Regions from separate parts of the Homo sapiens genome. Here region 2 is linked to region 1. The links are contacts of gene promoters, found by promoter capture Hi-C in blood cells and fetal thymus (Javierre and others, 2016). All regions are on one chromosome and are shown on one strand. The core of a region is centred on a gene start or on the middle of the fragment in contact, and the rest is flanking DNA. Distances in the headings are between cores, read along the strand shown.

Region 1 (7,252 bases), core at 2,371-4,870:
TCTGGGTCAAGTAGAAGGTACTGGGGATGGGGACATTCCTGCCCATAAAGGATTTGGGGAAAGAAGATTAATCCTAAAATACAGGTGTGTTCCATCTGAATTGAAAATGATATATTTGAGATATAATTTTAGGACTGGTTCTGTGTAGATAGAGATGGTGTCAAGGAGGTGCAGGATGGAGATGGGAGATTTCATGGAGCCTGGTCAGCCAGCTCTGTACCAGGTTGAACACCGAGGAGCTGTCAAAGTATTTGGAGTTTCTTCATTGTAAGGAGTAAGGGCTTCCAAGATGGGGCAGGTAGTCCGTACAGCCTACCAGGAACATGTTGTGTTTTCTTTATTTTTTAAAATCATTATATTGAGTTGTGTTTTCAGCACTATATTGGTCAAGATAGCCAAGCAGTTTGTATAATTTCTGTCACTAGTGTCATACAGTTTTCTGGTCAACATGTGTGATCTTTGTGTCTCCTTTTTGCCAAGCACATTCTGATTTTCTTGTTGGAACACAGGTCTAGTTTCTAAAGGACAAATTTTTTGTTCCTTGTCTTTTTTCTGTAAGGGACAAGATTTGTTGTTTTTGTAAGAAATGAGATGCAGGAAAGAAAACCAAATCCCATTCCTGCACCCCAGTCCAATAAGCAGATACCACTTAAGATAGGAGTCTAAACTCCACAGAAAAGGATAATACCAAGAGCTTGTATTGTTACCTTAGTCACTTGCCTAGCAGTGTGTGGCTTTAAAAACTAGAGATTTTTCAGTCTTAGTCTGCAAACTGGCATTTCCGATTTTCCAGCATAAAAATCCACCTGTGTCTGCTGAATGTGTATGTATGTGCTCACTGTGGCTTTAGATTCTGTCCCTGGGGTTAGCCCTGTTGGCCCTGACAGGAAGGGAGGAAGCCTGGTGAATTTAGTGAGCAGCTGGCCTGGGTCACAGTGACCTGACCTCAAACCAGCTTAAGGCTTTAAGTCCTCTCTCAGAACTTGGCATTTCCAACTTCTTCCTTTCCGGGTGAGAGAAGAAGCGGAGAAGGGTTCAGTGTAGCCACTCTGGGCTCATAGGGACACTTGGTCACTCCAGAGTTTTTAATAGCTCCCAGGAGGTGATATTATTTTCAGTGCTCAGCTGAAATACCAACCCCAGGAATAAGAACTCCATTTCAAACAGTTCTGGCCATTCTGAGCCTGCTTTTGTGATTGCTCATCCATTGTCCTCCACTAGAGGGGCTAAGCTTGACTGCCCTTAGCCAGGCAAGCACAGTAATGTGTGTTTTGTTCAGCATTATTATGCAAAAATTCACTAGTTGAGATGGTTTGTTTTAGGATAGGAAATGAAATTGCCTCTCAGTGACAGGAGTGGCCCGAGCCTGCTTCCTATTTTGATTTTTTTTTTTTTTAACTGATAGATGGTGCAGCATGTCTACATGGTTGTTTGTTGCTAAACTTTATATAATGTGTGGTTTCAATTCAGCTTGAAAAATAATCTCACTACATGTAGCAGTACATTATATGTACATTATATGTAATGTTAGTATTTCTGCTTTGAATCCTTGATATTGCAATGGAATTCCTACTTTATTAAATGTATTTGATATGCTAGTTATTGTGTGCGATTTAAACTTTTTTTGCTTTCTCCCTTTTTTTGGTTGTGCGCTTTCTTTTACAACAAGCCTCTAGAAACAGATAGTTTCTGAGAATTACTGAGCTATGTTTGTAATGCAGATGTACTTAGGGAGTATGTAAAATAATCATTTTAACAAAAGAAATAGATATTTAAAATTTAATACTAACTATGGGAAAAGGGTCCATTGTGTAAAACATAGTTTATCTTTGGATTCAATGTTTGTCTTTGGTTTTACAAAGTAGCTTGTATTTTCAGTATTTTCTACATAATATGGTAAAATGTAGAGCAATTGCAATGCATCAATAAAATGGGTAAATTTTCTGACTTATGTGGCTGTTTTTGACTTCTGTTATAGGATATAAAGGGGATCAATAAATGACATCTTTGAAAGTGGCTAAGCATATTGTATTTGAACATCAGTAGAGTACTAGAGACAATTTCATTCTTCACACAAATCTCCATACTGGAAATGAATAGGGTTTGGCAGGGAATACTTCCCAAGAATGCAGTGTCCAGGGTCCTTACTTCACATCATCTGGATCTGACCCTTTGAAAGAGGTAGAAGACTTCTGAGACCGGCTAATTAAGCTTTGTTTCCTCATATGTTTTGCCAGATAGCAGTAGCAGAATGAAAAGATGAGTAACCACAGGAAGCTGCTATTTTTCCCCTCCTTTCAAACTGTACTGTTAGAGTCATGGTCCTTTTTACAGAAGGAACCTCTCATCAGATTCTGTTGATTCTAAAGTGAATAGAATTTCTCCCGATAAAGAAATAGGGGTTTGTTTCGATTAATGACTGCAGGTCTCTGAGTAAATGCTCTATTTGATTTTTTTTTTCGGCCCGTGTGTCTACCTTATGGCCCAAGTCTACCTTATGGTGGCCATTAATTCATTTTGGGCTCCTGCAGCCTTAGTTGGGATATAGAAATGAGAAACACTCAGAAATACCCTTTTGGACCACAACCAAGAGAAATAACCAATAGTCTTTTCTCCCAGTGGTAAGGAAGTCAGAATACATTGATCTAGACTGCAACAACATATATATATATATCAGATTCCGCCCCCCCGCAATACATGAATGTATAGTAAATTAGTGTGAACTCACTGAACACTCCTCAGTTTTGGTGAGAGACTATATCTGGCCTCTTTCAAGCAAAGGAAAGCCATGTAAAACAGCGCTGCTGTCAGCCTTAACTTCCAGACGATCGAGTTAATTTACTAACTTCTCAGTGACCTGTTTTTTTTTTTTTTTTAATCTCAGTTATATTTTCTTCCTTGGGCTAAATCAGATATTTGCATAGCCCCCAAAGTAGTAATTGGATAGTCTTGGGGGAAATATGCATTTCAGTGGTGAAAACCCCTGTAAATTCAATATATTTGGCTTTTGTGGAAAATTTTCCTCATGGGGTGAAGTCTAAGCCTTAGTTTCTGTATTATCATGAGAGATGACACCAGCTGCTTAGCACAAGGTGGCGCCAATGAGCTTTAGAATAAGTTGGGCTTGACCACTTGGGCCATTGTTTTCCTGCTTCCTCCCTTCAAGCCTCACCTCCCCAGCTCCCAGCTTCTACTGAACAAGGCTGAAAACCCACTCTATTGCAGGGAAAGGGAAAGATTAATGAAAAATGTCAGTTTCTTAAGTCAGCACTGGTGAAACTTTCCTAAAACAGGAATGGCGTTTGCTGAGTTTTCTCTGGGGTCTCTGCTTTCTGCAGCTAGCTTCCCTGCTTGACTGCCTAGAAGGCCTCTGCTTTCGGGTTTCCATCTCTTTCCCCTCCAGAGGACCCTACAGCCTAGGCGGGAGGTGGTTAAGGCTTCTGGCTGCTGTGCAATGGGGCCATCTGTGTTTGATCAATCCTGGCGGAAAGGAGGGGGTGGGGGTTGTAAAGAGAACTGAAAGCATTCCAGAGTAGTGAGAGAGACCCAGAGATCAGGAGAGAAGGCACCGCCCCCACCCCGCCTCCAAAGCTAACCCTCGGGCTTGAGGGGAAGAGGCTGACTGTACGTTCCTTCTACTCTGGCACCACTCTCCAGGCTGCCATGGGGCCCAGCACCCCTCTCCTCATCTTGTTCCTTTTGTCATGGTCGGGACCCCTCCAAGGACAGCAGCACCACCTTGTGGAGTACATGGAACGCCGACTAGCTGCTTTAGAGGTGAGGGACCCCTTTCTCTTCTAGCCCCGCCTAGAAGGATTCCAGGGCTATTGGTTCAACCAGTTTGTTAGGGATCTGGGGATAACAAGAAAGGGCTCTGTTAGAGTCTACAGAAAATTCTCTCTTAATAAGAGGACCTTCGGAATGACAAGCCCTCCTCTTACCCCACATAGAACAATTCCAAAGCAAATCGACTTTTGCGTTTTACCTCTGGGATTAGATAGAATAAGGGGGCAGAGTGGAAACGAGAGCCAAAATTGTGGGGCTGCATCTCCAGAGAAGGTGATGATTCTGTTGAAGTTGGAGGTTCCCGGGGAATCTATAACTTCCTGTCTTTTTAACAGGTTGAGATCCGTAGCATTTTAGTGTCCGAGAGGATAATTGCTAAGGGAGCAGAGACCTCTTCACACCTTCATGCGCTTAGACCTGCCTAGAGGCTCAGATGGCTCAGTGGCACTGCTCACAGAGAACACAGGCTGGAGGACATGGAGTCGGGGTAGGGGCCTAGGTGAATCTCAGCTAGGCTCTTTGCACATTTAGCACCTCTGCACATCTGGTTTCCTTTTCTGCAGGAGTGGAAGGGGATATTGAAGCCTGGCTGAGTTTGCTCTTTTTTTCCCATTCCTGACTCCCGAGTTGGGCCTCTCCCTGCCTGGGAGTTGTAACCCTGCAGCCTCCCTCCTGATCCCCCATCCCTTCAGGAACGGCTGGCCCAGTGCCAGGACCAGAGTAGTCGGCATGCTGCTGAGCTGCGGGACTTCAAGAACAAGATGCTGCCACTGCTGGAGGTGGCAGAGAAGGAGCGGGAGGCACTCAGAACTGAGGCCGACACCATCTCCGGGAGAGTGGATCGTCTGGAGCGGGAGGTAGACTATCTGGAGACCCAGAACCCAGCTCTGCCCTGTGTAGAGTTTGATGAGAAGGTGACTGGAGGCCCTGGGACCAAAGGCAAGGGAAGAAGGAATGAGAAGTACGATATGGTGACAGGTAAATAATCTGAAAGCAGGCCCCTAACTCTTCTCAGAACCGATATTCTTCCTTCCTTGCTTCTTACTCTTTTTTTCGCTTTGTCCCAGTCCATTGTGGCTCTGTCTTCTGGAATCTGTTTTAGGGAAACCTCTGTAATGCCAGGTCTATTAAGGAGAGGTTCTGGGGATCCAGGCCGCTGTGGTACCCGCTCTTTCTCAATTCTCCCTAAGATTGGAGGCAACCACTGGGCAAATGCTCACTATTCTCCAGATCACCCACCCTGGGGGAGTTCCTGCTGGAGGCATCTAATTCTTGCCTCTATTTCCTTTTCCTGTGCTTTTCTCATCAGACTGTGGCTACACAATCTCTCAAGTGAGATCAATGAAGATTCTGAAGCGATTTGGTGGCCCAGCTGGTCTATGGACCAAGGATCCACTGGGGCAAACAGAGAAGATCTACGTGTTAGATGGGACACAGAATGACACAGCCTTTGTCTTCCCAAGGCTGCGTGACTTCACCCTTGCCATGGCTGCCCGGAAAGCTTCCCGAGTCCGGGTGCCCTTCCCCTGGGTAGGCACAGGGCAGCTGGTATATGGTGGCTTTCTTTATTTTGCTCGGAGGCCTCCTGGAAGACCTGGTGGAGGTGGTGAGATGGAGAACACTTTGCAGCTAATCAAATTCCACCTGGCAAACCGAACAGTGGTGGACAGCTCAGTATTCCCAGCAGAGGGGCTGATCCCCCCCTACGGCTTGACAGCAGACACCTACATCGACCTGGCAGCTGATGAGGAAGGTCTTTGGGCTGTCTATGCCACCCGGGAGGATGACAGGCACTTGTGTCTGGCCAAGTTAGATCCACAGACACTGGACACAGAGCAGCAGTGGGACACACCATGTCCCAGAGAGAATGCTGAGGCTGCCTTTGTCATCTGTGGGACCCTCTATGTCGTCTATAACACCCGTCCTGCCAGTCGGGCCCGCATCCAGTGCTCCTTTGATGCCAGCGGCACCCTGACCCCTGAACGGGCAGCACTCCCTTATTTTCCCCGCAGATATGGTGCCCATGCCAGCCTCCGCTATAACCCCCGAGAACGCCAGCTCTATGCCTGGGATGATGGCTACCAGATTGTCTATAAGCTGGAGATGAGGAAGAAAGAGGAGGAGGTTTGAGGAGCTAGCCTTGTTTTTTGCATCTTTCTCACTCCCATACATTTATATTATATCCCCACTAAATTTCTTGTTCCTCATTCTTCAAATGTGGGCCAGTTGTGGCTCAAATCCTCTATATTTTTAGCCAATGGCAATCAAATTCTTTCAGCTCCTTTGTTTCATACGGAACTCCAGATCCTGAGTAATCCTTTTAGAGCCCGAAGAGTCAAAACCCTCAATGTTCCCTCCTGCTCTCCTGCCCCATGTCAACAAATTTCAGGCTAAGGATGCCCCAGACCCAGGGCTCTAACCTTGTATGCGGGCAGGCCCAGGGAGCAGGCAGCAGTGTTCTTCCCCTCAGAGTGACTTGGGGAGGGAGAAATAGGAGGAGACGTCCAGCTCTGTCCTCTCTTCCTCACTCCTCCCTTCAGTGTCCTGAGGAACAGGACTTTCTCCACATTGTTTTGTATTGCAACATTTTGCATTAAAAGGAAAATCCACTGCTCCTCTCCTGTGTTTGTTTGGGGTAGCCCTCAGATCAAACTTCCCCCTGACCATCCAGTTTCTCCCTCCCAACCCATCCCCACTCCTTGAGCCATATTAAAGACTTGGGCGGGGCTCCCTTTGCTGAGGAAGAGTTTACTGTGAGGCGCCTGGGGGAGGTGGCAGAATCCCGCCACTTTAGGAGGCTGGACGAAAGGCCTCCTTCCACACCCACCGCCATCCACAGCAGCCAATCCACAGCAGCCATCCTAGAACCTCAGTGGCACCGTGCCTCTGGCTGTGAGACACTGGGGCCCAGGGCAGAGATTCCAGTTCCGATTCTCAGAGGATTTTGAACTACAAAATGCATGTTAGTTGCATTGCATTCTAGTGTGGAAACCAGAGCCCTGAATGCCTGTGTTTTTAGTAAGAACTGAAGTCTCCCCTCTAAAGTGGACTCTGCCCCGCACCCCAGACCTCCACTCCCACCTCCAGCGTTGTGCTCCTGCAGGGCCAGGTTGCACAATCATTCTTGGTCTGGACCGCTCTGATTTTCCTGCTGCCACGGCGTCTGCGGTTTGTGCAGGGAGGAGGGGCAGTGACCGTGTCCCAGATGTTGGCCTTACACGGTCTGCAGCCTATTCTTGCTTTCCTTTTCTCCACTCTCATCACCCTCACCTACCCACTCCAGCCCTGAACCTGGCTGAAGCCCGTCAGGACTTCTGGAAACTTAACCCTCTCTGGCCCATACCCTGGCCTCTGGCGTTGGATTGCAGAGCGTAATGTGGGGAAGAGGGAAGGGAGAAGGGAGAGGAGGAGGAAGGCTCCAGGCTTTGGACTCCAGTCTCCAGGAATCTGCTGATTTCTGCACCAG
Region 2 (6,413 bases), core at 1,409-3,908, 1.1 Mb after region 1:
GTACATGGAACAGAACCCTTCTCTTCTACTTTAATTAATTTCATTTTAAATTTATTTATTTCTATTCTTCCACTTTTAACTATTATAGTCTCCTTTAAAGTTGTTAATTCAGATAGGAAACTAAACTCACTTTTGTGGAATCAGAGATGATTCTGAGTTGGAAAGAACCCGAGTATGCACTTGGGCCTGTTTCCTGTCTTCAGGCAGAGAGATAAACTAAAGCTAAGAGAGATGGACTGCCTGTTCTTTGCCTAAAAGGTCACATTTCTCAACTACTGGGGTACAAACTATATTTCATGAAGTAATTTTTGTAAAATAATTTTTCTTTAGCTACAGACACAGTAAAGTAGCCATGTATAATTAAGTTTTTAGCTTGCCTCAAATATGACCTTTGTTCTTCTAGAAAAATTTCCTCCAAAATCAGTAGCAGTAGCAAGTATGGCAGAAAGAGAAATGTGGTTCTCCATGGGAGAGAGACTATTTCAAGCAGTCATATCTTTTTAGCAAAATGTTTTGTGAGTTTTTTGGGAGTGTGACACTTTTAGTGCACACTCAAAGACTTGTGTTTTCACATGTATAGAAGTTCATCTGGGGGTTTCCAAAGCCTTCCGTATTTTCACTTATGTGTGGCCTTACAAAATGTAGTTTTTAAAAAATCTATGGTTTACTAAATGTAACACGTTAAAAATCACTGAAAAATTTGCCAATGTAAATCCTAAATTTGGGTTTACTAAGTTAAAATGAAGCGTTAAGACCAAAAAAACATTGAAAATTTTATTTTCACAGGGGATTTGCATAAAAAGAACATTATTTTTGTTCTGTGTATATATAAGTATTTTTGTTTCCTTAACTTGTTTCTGTTGCCCACACACAACTAGGAGAAGATGCTTTTCTTTATTTTGGTTTGGCCAAAGATGCTAATGGTTAAATTATGAAGGACTTTGTTTTACTTATGTTAAGTGGTGAAAACTGTAGTTCTTAATCTATGAAGAATTCTCTAGGTGGCTATACAAGAAAAATACAAAAAGTTAGGAAAACATGTAAACGTAAGTTATGAGGTATTTCATAGATACAGTGCCCATACAAATTCTCTTTCCCACAATTTTCAACTGCCAGATCTCTTGCTTTAGTCTTTTTTCCTTATATTTGGAGAAACAGAAGAGTTTGACATAAAAGTCCCTTTGAGGATGTGAGGGTTGCAGTAGTTTACAGCAGGGTCAGAAAATGAAAGTAATAAAGCAATATTTACATGTTTTTGTATAAGAACAAAAATATTTCCTTAAAAAGTTGTTAAAAGTTTTTTAGTCCTATAAACACTCACTTTTATAGGGCACATGATTGTCTGTGTGACTTCTCTTTCCAGAGGAAGACTTTTTTATTTTTAAATTCTAGGAAAGCATGACTTATTCAAATTGGATTTTCCATGCTATATTTAGTTTTACAGATGTGTTTAGTTCTAAAACTGTGGTTTACTGTATTCTGGGGAGAGCATGTATATAAAAAAACCCAGGAAACCCTTACACCCAACTTAGACACAGTCAGTTTTAACACTCCATTGTGATCTCTCAATTCTTACAGCTTATTACTTCCATTAAGAAGAAATCTCTGAATTCTCTGCATCTAATTTTCAATGGCTACAGTCTGAGAAACTGACCCATTATCACTTTTTCTAAATAGCCAAGTTCTCAAAGTTTCTGAAAGCTCTTTGATCTTTTTTTTCTGGGAGCGAAATAGGTTGTTCTTCTTATATAACAAGAATCAGGAATTCCCAGCAAACAGATTTCATTACGTATAAAGCATATTCCAGAAACACGCAGATCACACATGAATATGCTCTCAGTCATCATAAACAGGCATTCACTCAAGGGGTAAACCAGTAATGAGCCAAACATACGTACTCATGCAAATGTACAATTGACAGCAAATTATTTTAGATCCTAATGTCATTTCAGTGTTAAAAATGAGCTGGGAGACAGCTCCTGTGACATTTGGTATGAAAGCTTTAGATTGCAATTTTCATGTAGAAGTAGCTTCATATCACATCTCGTGAGTTTCGTATCGCACAGCAGAGGACCATGCTGAATATCATGCCAAAGATCTGAAACAGAAGAAACACTCATCAGTGACTTTGAAACGGGTACTGATAGGTAAAAAGTTCAGCAGACTTCCTGGGTGTCTAACTCAAGTTAACAAATAATTATAACCAATAATTACCAGTCACAAATGACATTTTAGTATGTTACTTAAGGTTGGCTATGGGGTAAATAATTCTAGATTAACTGTTTAAATGTGTATTATTATTGTTAACAAGTAACAAGGCTCTGCTTTAAAAGAACCTACCCTGCTTCAGAATTATAGAACCGTTCTGAATACCTGTGAAAGACAGACACAATACTGGCTTTGGAATTTTATATTTCAGGTTAATCCTAGATCTCTTTTATATGTTTATTTTGAAAACTGTGTCCATAACCACTTGTTGTTTAGATATGCTTGTGGTCTAAATAATTTTCTATTGCTGGAAAAGCTCTGATTTTTTACAACAGTGTCCATACATCCAAAAATGGAGTATCAGCTGGGTGCAGTGGCTCATGCCTGCAATCCCAGCACTTTGGGAGGCTGTGGTGGGAGGATCGCTTGAGCTCAGGAGTTCTAGACCAGCCTGGGAAACATGGTGAAACCCTGTCACTACAAAAAATACAAAAATTAGCTGAGCATGGTGGTGTGTCCCTGCAGTCCCAGGTGCTTGGCAAGCTGAGGCGGGAGGATTATTGAGCCCAGGAGGTCGAGGCTGCAGTGAGCTGTGATTGCACCACTTCACTCCCTGGTGACAGAGACCCTGTCTCACAAAAAAAGAAAAAAAAAGTGGAGCATCACTTCATTCTCAGTCCATTTTTAAGGGCAAACGATGCTTCACTGTTTAATTCAATAGTTTTAGCAAAACATAAACTAAAGGGTTTATACTATGGTATTATTGACTTTTACCTTTTGGATAGTTCTCTGAGAAGTTAAATACTTGAGTGAAATCAATATCCACTTCCATGGTTTGAATAGAAGAATGCCAAAGAGTCTTCTTGTCCGCTATTATTTCCCCTACAATTTTGTAGAGCCCATGGAACCCTATCTGTGGGCACCATTCCATAAACTACTGTCAATGCTTATTTTAAAAAATGGGTACTATAACTTTCTGGTTCTCTCCTCAATTCCATCCTAAGTCAGACTAGGATCTGTAAGTGCTAAATTCAATAAGATATGAATGATCAGTTGTTTTGAAAAGGGAGGGGCAGAAGCAGGTAAGGGCATGGCCAGGAACAGGATTTCAAGCTTCTGGATGACAGGACTCAGTACCAGTGTGTAGCACGGGCGACACCCAATGCACTTTTAGTTAGCTGATTACATTGTGCAACTCTCACTTTACAGAGAAAAGAACTAACGAAGAAACCTGGGGGTGCCGACTCAAGATAGGCTCACTATGGGCATTTCCCCTTTATCATTGCCATAAGGTTGGATGTAATCCCTACCCATCCTGGTTTCAGTGAGACTCCTTCAGTCTCAGCCTACTGCCGACACGAGTCAGGGGTGAATGCTTCTAGGCTGCTCATTTGCTGAGATTGTGAAACTCTCCATTATGCAGCACACGCTCAGACCTGCCTCAGGACTGTCCTTTGGGGAGCTGCAGAACTGCAGCCAGGCTATCCCCAGAGCAGGTGGGGAGGACCTGAGAAATGTCCCTTGATTTGGAGGGCCTCAGCAGAGTATTTCCAGCCACTTCTCCACCCCTCTGTGCTCTAAATACAGAAAAGGGGAAGGCGCTTGTGTGTCCCCTGATAACTGCAAATTCACTGATTTCCTCACAATTCCCACAGCCCTTGCCTTAGTTTAGGCCATGAATTAATCTACATAGAGGGCTAGAGACTAAGTGCCATCTTAGCATTAGCTATTATCATCCAACCCCTGGACAATGGAAATCATCCTTTAACCCGCCTTCCAAATCCAATCTTGCCTCCCTCCAACCTTTCCTCTATCCTCTACCACAGGTTCTTCCAACTCTTGGTGACTCCCCTTTCCTTAAGGGTGAAGCCCACCCTTTCAAAGGGGCATACAAAGATCTCAATGATGTAGATCGAATACTCTCTCCATTACCACCTCTCGCAACTCCTGCCATACCTGTCCGCTGCTATCCATTCTTCCCACACACTCTTCTTTTGTACTTTAGAAGTACAGAGCCACCTGGTGGTGGTCTGGATGCACTACGCTTAATACCATCTATGCCATTGCCTTTGCCTGGTAGATTATGCAGAGAGCTGGCATTTGTTGAGTGTTATATGTCCCAGACACTTTATTTATATTAATTTGTAATACTACTGTATATGTAGTATCCCATTTAATTTTCACGGCAATCCTATAAGGTTTATATATTAACAGACGAGGAAATTGAGGTATAGAAAAATTAAGAAATTTTCCTGCGATCTCAGAGCTTGCAAATGGTGGAGCCTAGAGTTAAATCCAAACCATGTGATGCCAGAGCTCGCCCTATTAATCTCTATGCTCTGCTGCCTCTTCAAATCGTAGGTGAGAGAGATTAACCTGATATGTTGCATTGAATTTGTAACAGTAGAAAGAGACCCAGAACTGAAAATCATTTATCTAGGTTATGGATAGTAGCCTTAAAACGGGAAGTTAATAACAATGACACACTCAAGGTCATAATGAGTTAAAGTTGAAATTTCTATTATATTTTAGAGGACAAACTATTAATATATTTATGAGCTTTGTTCTTAGAAGATGTAATACATTGTGAACAAAGGTCTTTTTTCTTTATGAGAATTCTCTCTTAAGATACTATCACACTTGAAAAGAAATAAGATGCAAAGTTTCAAGGCTTTTTAGAGGGCAAAAAGGGTAAGTTCTAGAACTTTCTCACCGTCAGACCTGCAATTCCAATACCGACAATTCCAATGAGCTGGAGCTTAACACTGATTATGGTCTCAATTTCATCGATGCAATTCTGTTTTGAGGAAAAAAAGTCGGGAATAAAAACTGATTGTATGTGTCAGTCATTATCCTGATCCTATCCTTTCCATCTCTACAGTTCATTCTGTGAGAGTTAATCCATGCCAGCTTCTACTCATGTTTCAACAATTCATCTTTGATAACATCATCCTAATAAGCTTAATGCAAAAATGCAGTTTGGGGAAAAAAATAGAAGCCTCTCCTTTGGGTGAGATTTTCATGTTTAGGCCAGTGGCTTCTTCGGAGCCCTGAAATATAACTGGAGGAAGCTATTTGTCTGGTTCCAAGGAATCTAAAAATTTGGAGCCACTTCTTACTTGTAGCAAATAAGTAAAATACCCTTAAAACAATAACTCTTTGTTTTCATATTGTCATTTACAGTTTAAAATACTTTCTATGTCTTTGACCCAATTTACTATGCAAAGTAGGCATGACCTATTAAGAAACTAAAAAGTCTTAACAGGTTCAAGTTAAACAAAGGAAAGCCAAGAATTAGAAAAGCCAAGTCTTGGAGCTAGAGGACCATTCTCTCCTGTGGTGGCTGGGCTGGGCTGTGCTGGGTGAGTTCCTATCCTTTCATCTGTGCCCATAAGACACCTGTGCAGCATAGATTCAAAGGGCCTTCATGGATGTGGGGAAACTTAGACAGAAAGCCAAATAGATCACCTGTAACTATTATTAGTTTCTCCAACTTCAAACACTCCTATTTGGAGTGCTCTTAAGTAGAGGGATGCTCTCAATCCAACTGTACCCTCAGGTTGTTCAGATCTGTTCACTTGTCACTGGTTGGTTCCTTTGATACCATCTGAGCTATATAAAACCCTTACTTCTCTCTTCGTATTTCCTATCACACTTCATTCATTCAACAAACATTTCTTGAGCATCTACCTTGCATTAGTCACTGGAAGAGGGGTGGTAGATGCAGAGACAATAGGATATGGTTTCTCCTGCTTTCTGGGAATTCACAGTTTAGAGGACACAGATCCACAAGAGATACCTATAATGCATTCTGACAAAAGTTTGAAAACTACTCTTCTAAGGAGTGGCTCCCTTACTTAGTGGAAAAAATGAGAGTCAACCTATAGCAATTCTTTCACTCTTCCTCTCCTTCTCCTATACACTTAGATGCTCCCTTCCTTCAGTGCCAGGCATTGCTGTAGGTAGCAAGCACACTCCTGACTCCTTTTTCTCTGATCAGAGCCAAAGAGGTGCCCTTCTCTGTTGAAAGTTAACCTCATGGCTGGGCGCGGTGGCTCAAGCCTGTAATCCCAGCACTTGGGAGGCCGAGATGCGTGGATCACCTAAGGTCAGGAGATCGAGACCAGCCTGGCCAACATGGTGAAACCCCGTCTCTACTGAAAATAAAAAAATTAGCCGGGCATGGTGGCACCTACCTGTAATCC

Evidence for each region. Contacts are between HindIII fragments. The CHiCAGO score rates a contact against its expected background, and 5 or more counts as called.
Region 2: a contact is called between a fragment that was not itself captured here and the fragment with the promoter of OLFML3 in region 1, in 2 of 17 cell types (total B cells and naive B cells). The highest score is 10.6, in total B cells.

The regions. Positions count from the first base shown.
Region 1 is chr1:113,975,854-113,983,105 of GRCh38, forward strand. It overlaps OLFML3 (olfactomedin like 3), which reads left to right and starts at 3,621. Exons shown (of 3, transcript NM_020190.5): 1 at 3,621-3,777; 2 at 4,479-4,764; 3 at 5,096-6,400. The coding sequence starts at 3,664. The coding sequence ends at 5,916. HIPK1 (homeodomain interacting protein kinase 1) reads left to right here. Exons shown (of 16, transcript NM_198268.3): 16 at 1-2,016. RefSeq lists enhancers at 982-1,559, 2,865-3,698, 5,366-6,198. The HindIII fragment of the contact is 3,076 bases long and covers 2,210-5,285 here.
Region 2 is chr1:115,048,458-115,054,870 of GRCh38, forward strand. TSPAN2 (tetraspanin 2) reads right to left here. Exons shown (of 8, transcript NM_005725.6): 7 at 4,922-5,005; 8 at 1-2,098. The coding sequence ends at 2,033. Among named protein-coding and RNA genes, the nearest start is that of TSHB, 22 kb to the left of the region's middle. The HindIII fragment of the contact is 1,321 bases long and covers 1,999-3,319 here.